Regions from separate parts of the Homo sapiens genome. Here region 1 is linked to region 2. Evidence: promoter capture Hi-C in human tissues and cell types (Jung and others, 2019). All regions are on one chromosome and are shown on one strand. Each heading gives the region's core, a stretch centred on a gene start or on the middle of the fragment in contact. The rest is flanking DNA. Distances are from core to core; before and after follow the strand shown. Region 1 has its middle 91 kb from the start of SPIDR. Region 2 holds the start of SPIDR (scaffold protein involved in DNA repair).

What was found. Contacts are between HindIII fragments. The study calls those that stand out against the background at their distance.
Region 1: a fragment that was not itself captured here is called in contact with the fragment with the promoter of SPIDR in region 2 in 2 of the 25 tissues and cell types used here (adrenal gland and spleen).

The regions. Positions count from the first base shown.
Region 1 is chr8:47,166,921-47,173,196 of GRCh38, forward strand. No RefSeq gene overlaps it. Among named protein-coding and RNA genes, the nearest start is that of SPIDR, 91 kb to the right of the region's middle. The HindIII fragment of the contact is 4,639 bases long and covers 817-5,455 here.
Region 2 is chr8:47,259,026-47,265,009 of GRCh38, forward strand. SPIDR (scaffold protein involved in DNA repair) reads left to right here and starts at 1,913. Exons shown (of 20, transcript NM_001080394.4): 1 at 1,913-1,966. The coding sequence starts at 1,934. RefSeq lists a silencer at 1,627-2,176. The HindIII fragment of the contact is 26,545 bases long and covers 1-5,984 here.

The sequences.
Region 1 (6,276 bases), core at 1,886-4,385, 91 kb before region 2:
AAAATCAGCAAACTCTGGAGGTGGCTGGGATTCTTTTCCTTCCACCTGAGGCTTGGATGCAGCACAATCAAGCAGGGTGTGGCTCCGACACCCATCCTGGGCCAGGCTTCCCCTTCCTCCCACAGACAGTTTCCCTCTCTCTCAATCTACATAGGAGTTTCCCTCAGAAAAAGTCCTAAAGCCTAAAATTCTACAGCCTCCTATGCTGCCACCCTCAAAAGCCCTAGGGGAATGAATACTACTGTAAAATACACACTAAAATACTAACAGAAAAAGAGGAAAATGAGTGAGAACCTGATGGGAATAACAGAACATTCCACAAAATGAAAGCTTCTATACTCACAATGAAGAAAAAACAGCTGAGGAGCTGCGCTGAGGCGAAACTGCAAGGAAGCTCCCTCCTCAGCAGTCAGCACAGTGGATAGGAGCTGTCTCTTCCCAAGGGCGCAGTCCCAAGTCATCCCAAAGCTGCCGCAGTGTCCCGTCCAGCAAGTCCTGAGGGACCTGGAGTGCTTCACTTTCTCCTCACTGTGGACGCCACACCTGCCACACGGTGCCTGCAGGTAGAACACCCATGTGCACCATTAAGGGCAGAAAAGGCAGTTTGAACGCCCCTGCTGGTCACAGTGTGCAACGCAGGATGGTTCCACCTCATGGTCATGGCCCCAGTGCTGTGAAATTAGAACTGGTGACATACATCTGGGAAATAACTGTCTTGTAACAAGACTGTTGTCATTTAACTACCAGTTTTGTTATCCTGTAACTTCTTGTGGGATGAAGAAAATTGTGTTCCAAAGAAATGATGTTTGCCATATTATTGGAGATCAGTTGTAAAACAATGTTGGATACTTCCTACGAATTACCAGTGGTTTGCTTTGTGAAGAGGTTTAAATTCCCATCTCTGGTGCATTTTGGAACAAGTGGCTTTGAGGTCAACACCTTGAAAGGTAGCCCTCAAAAGAACAAGAGTCTTCAGTTCCCACACAAAGTAAAAAATGTGAACTTAATTTTAGCATTGTTAATAGGGAACAACTATCCATGAATCCCTGCATCAAAATGCCTATGTTATAACATCCTCTCTTCCTAAGGCACAGGAGCAAGTGGTACATACTTGTCTGGCAACCAGTTTCATTAATGCTGTTGTTGTATCTGTCCAAAGATGAGAAGTAGTTTGTTACCAGTTTCACTACCTTTTGGAGTTTTAGATAACATATATCCACACTGTGATATTTACACTTTTTAATGACTCCCTTTTAAATAAAATTACCACTTTATGTGAAATCCAGTTCATGCATAATAAAGCTTGCCTGTACATATATGGTGTTGGGCATACACCATACATTCGTACATAATGCCAGCCATGCCTTAATCATGGGATAAGAATGGCCAGACACTTCCCACATTTCTGCGACAGCAAATTGAGCGCTCACACAGGGCTCCTGGCTGGAGAACAGGTGAGACCCAGACCTGCCCATGACTCTCCTCCCTCAGTGGTCCATCATTCAATTATTTAGGCACCTCTGGGGACAGACACCAGGCTCTCTGAGGCTTCAGATGCCCCAGAAAGCCTGCTCTCCTAAAAACAGTGGCCTTGGATGGAGACATTCTTGCTGCATTTCTCCTTAAATATACTCAATTTGTGTGTGTGTGTGTGTGTGTGTGTGTGTGTGTGTGTGTGTTTGAATCAACACAATTGTCCCACAGAAACTTCTAAGGGCCTAATAAATATGTGCATAGAATTTTGATGGGATAGTTTTTTAACTATATAAAAAGATATAAATAATATGTAATTTTAAAAAAATGGTGCAGTGGCTCATACCTGTAATCCCAGCACTTTGGGAGGCCAAAGCAGGTGGATCACCTGAGTCCAGGAATTCAAGACCACCTTGGGCAACACGGAGGAACTCTGTCTCTACAAAAAAAAAAAATACAAAAACTAGCTGGCCATAGTAGTGCGCACCTGTAGTCCCAGCTGCTTGGGAGGCTGAGGTGGGAGGATGACCTGAGCCAGGGAGGTCAAGGTTGCAGTCAGCCGAAATTGCACCACTGCACTCCAGCCTAGACAACAGAGACATTGTATCAATAAAAAATAAAGAAATGTCTGACAGATAATCCTTCAGCGTTTTTATCTAGTAGTTATCTCAGCACTCCCAGGACTGCTGTGAGCAATCAATGAAATCTGTCACAGCAGAGACTCTTTGGGGTCTCCCAGCCAAGGCCATGTGGAGCACATAGAGGCAGGATCAGGGAATCTGAGCATCTGCCTAGGGCCTCTCCCTGCTTCCTCACCCTCTGCCATATTCTTCTCCACATCTGACTCTGTGAAGCCACATCATCTGTTTCCTGACTCCTTTTCTACCAGTGACAAACTCCCACTCTGCTGGTGTCTGGCCATAAATCTCCAAATACAGAATTCCCTCAAGCCACATGTGTTTCCCTGAATTAGAACACAAAGTTTCAGCATAACTGTCATTTATCCCATCATTCTCCAGAGCTCCCCATCTCCCCATCCCCAGGATGCTCCCCAAGTCTCCACAGCCAGCCCTCTCCTCATTCCTCCATGGAGCCCTGGCACAAAATACTGACCCATACTGCCCTTCCCAGGGCTTAGAGGTGCCAAGTTATGAGCCAAGACCGCCAGGTGCAACAGGAAGCTCCACTGGAGATAAGCTTCCCACCTCTTTTGTATTATCTACTGCGCAACTCATATTTTATTTTATATTTTACTATATTTTATTATTTTATATTTTATCTTTTGAGACAAGGTCTCTGTTGCCCAGCCTGGAGCACAGTGGCATGATCACAGCTCACTGCAGCCTCCATCTCTTTGGCTCAAGCAATCCTCCTGCCTCAGCCTCCTGAGTAGCTGGGACTACAGGCATGCACCACCATGCTTGGCTAATTTATCTTATTTTTTGAAAGACGGGAGTCTCACTATGTTGCTCAGGCTGGCCTTGAACTCCTTGGCTCAAGTGATCTTCCCACGTTAGTCTCACAAAGTGTTGGGATTAGAGGCATAAGCCGCCGTGCCCAGCCTGTTGAGAGTTTTTATCATGAAGGGGTGTTAAGATTTTATCAAAAGATTTTTCTGCGTCTATTGAGATAATCATATGGTTTTTGCTTTTAATCTGTTTATACAGGGAATCACACTTACCGATTGCAGATGTTGAACCAACATCCCTGGAATAAAGTCTATTTGATCAAGGTGAATTAGTTTTTCAATGTGCTGCTGGATTCAGTTTGCTAGTATTTTGTTGAGGATTTCTTCTTCTATGCTCATTGGGATATTGGCCTGAAATTTTTTTTCTTTGTCATGTCTCTGCCAGATTTTAGTGTTAGGCTGATGCTCGTTTCATAGAATGAATTAAGGAGGAGTCTCTCCTCCTCGACTTTTTAGAGTAGTTTCAGAAAGGCTTTGAATTCAGAATTTGGCTTTGAATCCATCAGGTCCAGGGACTTTTTTCATTGCTAGGTTTTATATTACTGTTTCAATCAGGGTTCAGTATTGGTCTACTCAAGGTTCCAATCTCTTCCTGATTTAATCTTAGGAGACTGTATATTTCCAGGAATGTATCCATTTCCTCCAGATTTTCTAATTTGTTTGTATAGAATTGTTCATAGTATTCTGAGGGTCCCTTTCATCTCTGTAAGAACAGTTGTAATGCCATCTTTGTCATTTCCAATTCTACTTATTTGGATCTTTAATCCAGCTAGCAGTGCATCAATATTGTTTATTTTTCTCAGAGAAGCAACTCTTGGTTTCATTAACCTTTTGTATAGATTTTTGCATCTCAATTTCATTAAGTTCTTCTCTGATTTTAGGTATTTATGTGTTTCTTACAAGCTTTGGGGTTGGTTGGTTCTTCGGTTCCCAAGTTCTTTTAGGTGCCCAGTTAATTGTCAATTTGAGATCTTTCTGACTTTTTGATGAAGGCATTTAGAGGTATAAACTTCCTCTTCACACTGCTTTACTTGTGTGAAGAGAAATCCCAGAAATCTCTGGTAAGCTATGTGCCTATTTTAATTAATTTCAAAGTTTTTTTATTTCTGCCTTAATTTCAATGTTCACCCAGGATTTATTCAGGAACAAGTTGTTTAATTTCCATGTATTTGTGTTGTTTTAAGAGATCTTAACTGCTATTGGTTTATATTTTTATTGCACTGTGGTCTCACAGTGTGCTTTGTACAATTTCAGGGTTTTTTTAATTATTTATTGAGACTTGCTTTATGGCTGAGCATATGGTTCATCTTAAAATACGTTCCACATACAGATAAGAAGAATGTGTATTCTGTGGTTGTTGAGTGGAGGATTCTGTAGAAGACTATTAGGTCTAATTGGTCAAGTTTTGAGTTTAAGTCCCACATTTCTTTGTTAATTTTCTGCCTTAATGATCCGACTAACGCTTCCGTGGGGAGGTGAAGTCTCCCACTACTATTGTGTGGTTGTCTATGTCATTTTGTAGGACAAGAAAAACTTGTGCTATGAATTTGGGTGCTTCAGTGTTGGGTGCACATATATTTAGGATAGTTAAGTCTTCTTGTTAGCCTTTATCATTATGTAATACTGCCTTCCTTGTCCTACCTAATTTTATTGGTTTAAAGTCTGTTTTATCTGATATAAGAATTGCAACTCCCGGCCGGGCACGGTGGCTCACACCTGTAATCCCAGCACTTTGGGAGGCCGAGGTGGGTGGATCACTTGAGGTCAGGAGTTCGAAACCAGCCTTGCCAGCATGGCAAAACCCCATCTCTACTAAAAATACAAAAATTAACTGGGCGTGGTGGCACCCACCTATAGTCCCAGCTACTCGAGAGGCTGAGGCAGAAGAATCGCTTGAACCTGGGAGGCAGAGGTTGCAGTGAGCCGAGATCGCACCACTGCACTCCAGCCTGGGTGGCAGAGCAAGACTCTATCTCAAAATAAATAAATGAATAAATAAATAAATAAAGAATTGCAACTTCTAGTCCAGATGCAGTCACTAATGCCTATAATCCAGGCACTTTGTGAGGCCAAGGCAGGTGGATTGTTTGAACTCAAGAGCTGGAGACCAGCCTGGGCAACATGGCAAAACACCATCTCTACAAAAATTAGCCAGGCGTGGTGGCAGATGCCTATAGTCCCAGCTACTTGGAGGCTGAGGTGGGAGGATCACTTAAGCCTCAGAGGTTGAGGCTGCAGTGAGCCGTAATCACAACACTACACTCAAGCCTGGGTAACAGAGACCCTATCTCAAAAAAAAAAAAAAAAAAAGAACAGCGACTCTTACCTGGTTGACATTTCTCCACCCCTTTACTTTGAGCCTGTGGATACTGTTACATGTGAGATTAATCTCTTGATGATGGTTGGGTCTTGTCTTTATATCTAGCTTTATATCTATCTTGCCACTGGATCAAAGATTTAAGTGTAAGACTTTAATAGTTAAGTCTTCTTGTTAGCCTTTATCATTATGTAATAATGCCCTTCCTTGTCCTACCTAATTTTATTGGTTTAAAGTCTGTTTTATCTGATATAAGAATTGCAACTCCCAGCCGGGAAACTCTAGAAGAAAACCTAGGAAATACCATTCAGGACATCAGCCTTGGGAAAGAATTTATGACTAGAGGCCGGGCACGGTGGCTCACACCTGTAATCCTAGCACTTTGGGAGTGCTGAGGTGGGCGGATCACCTGAGGTCAGGAGTTCGAGACCAGCCTGACCAACATGGTGAAACCGTCTCTACTAAAATTACAAAAAATTACCCTGGCATGGGGGTACGCACCTGTAATCCCAGCTTCTTGGGAGGCTGAGGCACGAGAATTGCTTGAACCCAGGAGACAGAAGTTGTAGTGAGCCAAGACTGTACCACTGCACTCCAGCCTGGTCAATAGAGTGAGACTCTGTCTCAAATTGAAAAAAAAAAAAAAAAGAATTTATGACTAGGTTCTCAATAGCAGTTGCAATAAAAACAAAAATTGACAAGTGGGACCTAATTAAACTAAAGAACTTCTTCACAACAAAAGTAACTATCAACAGAATAAACAGAAAACCTACAGAATGGAAGAAAATATTCACAAAAGTCTAATATCTAGCATCTATAAGAAACTTAAATCAATATGCAAAATACGAATAATCCCATTAAAAAGTGGGCAAAAGGCTAGGCACAATGGCTCATGCCTGTAATCCCAGGACTTTGGGAGGCCGAGGCAGGCAGATCACCTGAGGTCAGTAGTTCAAGACCAGCCTGGCCAACATGGTGAAACCCTGTCTCTACTAAAAATACAAAAATTAGCTGGGCA
Region 2 (5,984 bases), core at 663-3,162:
ATTTAGATTCTAATTGTTATAACATCTTCAACAGAGCATGAGGTCCTGCGGACATGGAAGAGCAGGGAGGTTCAGGCTTGCTAGTTTAGGGAAGCTGGCCACCAGGTTCAGGTTTGACAGGCGCATAGGAAATGGCATGGCAGAGGGAGGCCAGAGCCTTTTAGGCAAAAGGAAGAGCAAATGCTTATTAGACCCCAAGGCTGCAGGAGCTAGGCACGTTTGACCACCGAAAGGGAAGGCCAGTATAGACAGCATAAACCTCACTGTGGTGTCTGTGTTGAGAATGGATTGTATGTGTGTGCTGTGTGAGGGGCAAGAGTGGATTAGGGGACATGGGTTAAGAGCTACTAGCAGTCTGGGCAAAAGATACTAGTGGCCTGGGAAACAGTGGTAGTGGAGAGTGGACACATTAGTAAGACACACAAACGTGTTCACAAAAATTCCTAGGTTTCTGCGTGAGCTGTGGCCAGGTGGATGTCCATGCCACTACTGAGATGGCGAATTCTGAACAGGAGGAAGTTTGGAGAAAAACCCCAACATTTCGGCAGGACAGCACCTCCTGGTGGAGATGACAAGCGGGAGCCTCACCACAGGCCTGGTTGTGGGAGTGAAAGGGGGACTCCGGGCGCGGTCGGGTGCACTTACTGTGCTAAGACAGCAAGGCCCGGCGGAGGTGGCAATGGCAGACCTGGTTTCTCGGCGGAGTCCCAGTGGGAGGCCCGGTGTCCAAAATCCTCAACTAGATTGGGCATGCCGTTTATCTTGTTCCAACTGTTGACAGTAATGGCACTAGCAATAATGTCCTTCCCAGGCAAAGATGGTTTTTCTTCCGTGTTTTCAGCCACTGCAGAGTGGACATCTACTATGAACCAAGTATCTGCGGCTTTAGGTACCAGATTCAAACACAGAATGGTGGCAGAACAGGGACTAGGACGGAGAGAAAACCTGAAGATGGATCAACCAGGAAGCAATGCATTCTCACAGAGGCACAAAAAAATGCCTCTGAAACAGAAGATTCACCTCCACTTCTGCGTCCTTTTGAGGCAACTTTCTGAGCATCCTTTCCTCCTCCCCAGGCCAACGCTTTTCCACCTTGTTAAACTACCCGGTAGCTTTCTCCATGGGAGGCGCCTTCTTCACAGTACTCGGACCCAGTTACACTTGTGGCCTTCCCCGGCTTCTGCTGGGCCGGCTATGGTCGACGCCGCACCGTCTCAGGCCCACTTCTCCTGCGGGAGCGGCGGCCCCAGCGGAGCCCCTGTGCGCCACGGCGAACGTGATAGGAATGCAATCTTCCGCCCCTTCAGACTCTGGCACCCCGTAGCCTTTCCTCAGGCTCCACGAGTTCTCCCGGTGATGTGATGACCGACATGGCGTCTGGGCTCTGAACACAGACTTTACTCCTTCCCCCCGGCCCCGAAACATGGGGAAACCACACCCTCTCTGCTCCAGTCACCAGCAGCCACTCCCATTCCTTAAGTATCCATTATTGCATGTGTAGCCTATTGCATGTGTAGCCTACTTCTGGTTTTCATTTTTATTTAAGGTCAGTTGTTGCCTGACAACACAGACGACAGTAACTTAATTCGAAAGACAATACTTGGAGGCGGCCCCCGCTCCAGGCACCAGCCCAGCAGCTCCCCCGAACTCCCCAGGAGCTCGCGGGCGAGCAACGCCACAGCCCAGAGCGAGCTCCGCGGAACCCCCAGCCCCGGGGAAGGAAGCTCGACTCTCCGCGGGGCACTCCTTCCGGGCTCCGGGCCCGACTAGGCCATCCGGGAGGCCCTGGAGCGCCGGGGCCGGAGAAGCCCTGCCCCCCGCCGAAGCCCCGCCCTGCGCCCGAGCGCCCGCCAATGGCAGGGCGCGGTGCGGCGCGCCGAGGTGGGACGGCGGCGCGCTGAGGAGGCGGTGCGCTCAGGCGGCGCTCCCGGAGATGCCCCGCGGCAGCCGCGCTCGGGGCTCTAAGGTAGGCTCTGGGGCGGGAGTGGGCGCCGCGCCGTTTCCCGCGTTGCGGGGAAGCGGCGGGCCGGCGCGGGGCTGGCCCCGTTGTGCTGGGGTGAGAGAGGGTGGGCGTTGGGGGTGAAGGGCTAGGTGGTGGCGGGTCCCGTCTGCGCGCGTGGAGCAAGCCCGCGCAGTGGGGTACCGCCCCCAGGTCCGGCTCCGGTCCAGGCGTGCGGGCCGGGCCCTCAGCGGCGGTACGGAAAGCGAGGGGTGGGACCGCCGAGGGACGCAGCGGGCGGGAGCATATGTCCGCCTCGGGGGTACTTGGCCTTACTCTTGTCTCTTTTTGATTCTGGTGTAATGTACCAAACCGCAGGGAATCCTGGCGTGGTTTTACCCGTCTCCGCGGATAATCCACTGTCAACTCTGTCTCTCTTCCTGCCGCACTCGGAGGGGACTGTGCGGCTGACTGCCCAATCCGTGGGCACCGCGCTGCCTCGGGTTCCAGAACGGGAGCGGGTGCCTAGGAATCGTTGCTTGAATGGTGTTTGATTGCACCTGTATCCGCGAGTGCATCCTTTTTTGTTCTGCTAATTGTGCTTGTCATGGCATGTGTCCTTTATCGTTTTAAAGTTTCTTCTAACTTCCTTGCTTTCAAATACGTTTGTCTCATAGTAAAACGGTTTTTAAAAAGCAAACACAGGACCTCCTTTCTTGACTCTTGCCTTTACTTGAAAACTTCCTGGAAAAAATAGACCACATATACTGGTTCAACTTCTTTACCACTACCATGCTTTCTCGCTTCTCAAATACCATTGATTATCAGCCCACACTATCAGTTTTGTGACTGGCTTTAGGGAATAAAGAAATTCATTTCAGGCACCTCTTGATTATAAGATACAGTCTGATTTCTGAAGCATTAATGTGTGAAAAAAATCAAGGAAATATATAAATTTGCTAAATCCAGTGTAAGTTGTTTACTTGATCATTGGAGCGTTTGACACATTCACCACCTGCTTTTATTTCTTTTGGAACATCCATGATTGTTTTCCTGTCTTGCAACAGCTCATTTTCTTCTCTTTACTGTGTTCGTGCCATGTTCTAATTTTTGACCTTGTGCTTTTTCACATGTTCCATATTTGCTTTGGACAATGTCATACATTGAAGTTAACTATATAGATGACTTTCAGATCTATATTAGATCTTTCCCTAGAGCTCAAACTTAGTGCATCACATAATCATCATCTCACCCTTAGTCCTCCAGGCCCTAACAGTTTCTCTTGACTTAGAAATCTTAGTATTTTTGAATTGACGTTCACTTCTGGTCTCTTCATCTTGTCATTTTTCAAGACTCTTTTTTTTTACTCAATTTTTTTTAGTAGTCGTACAGTTGTCTATTGTGTAATACGTTGCTGAAAACTGAAGCAGTTCATAACAAATGTTTATTATATCATAGAGTTTCTGAGACTCAGGAATCTGAGAACGGCTCAACTAAGTGGTTGTAGTTCAGGATCTCCCACAAGGCTGCAGTCAAATAAAGGGTCGTTGGAGCTGGAGAATCCAGTTCCAAGCTCACTCACGTGGTTGTTTCTTGACAGCTGCATAGGGCAGCTCACAACAGGGTCCTGGCTTTCCCAAGAGCAAGAGAGAGAGCAACAAGATATCGGTCCCCGTGTCTTTTATAGCCTAAACTCAGAAGTGACATCCCATCTCCTGTCTATTCATTACATGGACCAACCCGGTACAATGTATGAGGAGACTATAGAGGGTCCCCAGGAGGTGGGGATCACAGGGGCCACCTTGGAGGCTGGCTTCCACAGTATTTCCCAGGAATTTATTTTTTGTTTCTGTCTCCCTCGGTCAGTCTCAAAAGTACTTAATGGTTGGAGTGTTGATGTGTAGTGCCGGCTAGCATGCTCCCATTCCATCTTCAGAGGTGACTTTCCCTTAGGCACTACTTTGATTATATTGTTAGTCCTCTATCTAAATCTCATTTTACTTCTTATTGGCTACATCATAATTTACTGCAGAACTTATCCTGTGTTTAGTGCTTTATATGTATTAACTAATTTAATTATTTTAACAGTCCTGTGAGGTAGATACCATTAGTCTCATTTTATGGATGAGGAAACTGAGGCTCAGCAGAGAGGCTAAGTAATTTGCCTAAGGTCACACAGCAGTTAAGGGAAGAAGCTAGGATTTGTATCCAGGTAGTCTGCCCCAGACCTTGCTTTTGTTCAGGCTCTCAGCCTGTTATTCACAGCCTCCATAATATCTGTGTCTTATTCCTTTACAGCTTTGCTCATTATTTATCTTATAGGTAAACTAGACTACTGCGTCACTGTACTTGCTTGCCCCTTGGTGGTAATTGCGTATGTTCTTGGTTTGGAATAATGCCAGTTCTCCCATTTCTGCTGATTGAAACCTTTTTTTTTTGAGACGCAGTCTCGCTCTGTCGCCCAGGCTGGAGTGCAGTGGCGCGATCTCGGTACAGGCGCCAGCCTCCACACCGGGCTAATTTTTTTTAAATTTTTATTAGAGACAGGGTTTCACCGTGTTAGCCAGGATGGTCTCGATCTCCTGACGTCGTGATCCGCCCGCCTCGGCCTCCCAAAGTGCTGGGATTACAGGCGTGAGCCACTGCGCCCGGCCATGAAATCTTAATCATCCATTGAGGCCTACTTCAAATCCCACCTTCTCCCAAATTATCCCAGCTATAAATGAACTTTCTTCTGTATGTTCTTGGTTTGGAATAATGCCAGTTCTCCCATTTCTGCTGATTGGAATCTTAGTCATCCATTGAGGCCCACCCCAAATTTCACCTCCCAAATTATCCCAGCTGTAAATGAACTTTCTTCTGTAGTCTGTGGAATTTTATGTAAATAACTCTTACTATTCCATGTCTTACATTAGGTTTATTTGTGTCTACACCTTTATTCCCTTATATTCTAGACATTTAAGATTAGGGACTATTTCTTCAGCCCATATTCCCCAGAATACCTGTCATATCCCTTGTATGTACTAGATATCTGATGAATTAATGAAAGGAGAACTAGTTTAGAAGATTTGCAAGTATTCCAGGTGTGAAGAAACAGGAGGAAATACCCTAGTCCGAAGACTCGGATATCTGCCTCAGCAGTACAGCTGAATGATTTTGCAGTTTTGGACAAGCCACACAGATATATCACGACTCTTAAGATGAAAGGTGGTGTGGTTATGGACTAAGGTGGTGGAATTAGGAATAGAATAGAAAGGACTGGGTTGACAGACTACAAATGGAAGGTGAGATTTAGGCAACTGCAATTGAAAGAGGAAGAGGAGGAAACCCATGGTGATTCAGAAAGTCGAACCTATGAGAAGTGAGAAAGTTGTTTGCCTCTTAACTGATGTTAGGATATATAGATATATCCTATATATCACATATATAGATATGTGGTATTTAAGTCCCAGGGAGATTAGGGCAGTCAGTTGCTCAAAGGCTGGGGTATCTTAGTTCTTTCCTCACTCCCCTCTCCTCCATGAGTTTCTCCTGCCCTAGCCCCTCACTATCCCTTAACATGCTGTGATTCTTCCCTTTGTGCCTTGTGTTCTCCCTTTCCTTATGAAGTAGCCAAGGACGACCACATATACTCCTGTTCTTGGGCAGCAGCTTGCCTTTTGAGATTTTCTTTTTTTTTTTTTGAGATGGAGTCTTGCTCAGCCACCCAGGCTGGAGTGCAGTGGCCCGATCTCGGCTCACTGCAACCACTGTCTCCTGGGTTCAAGTTCTCTGAATAGGGCAATATACCTAACATTGAGTTGTCGTTTCTTTATAAAATGGGGTTAATACCTATATTGCTGGGTTGATGTGAGGATTAAATTATGAGAATGCATGCGATGATATACCGAGCATATAAACACTCAATAAATGTTGGTGATAATGAAAGCAATTAATAATGAAACACCATGATAATTAAAGAAATCATATGAGGACAAAGATATTGTACATCCTCTACTGCTTTGTCTCTAGATTTCCCTGGAATTGCTGTCTTTCAGCTTCTTGA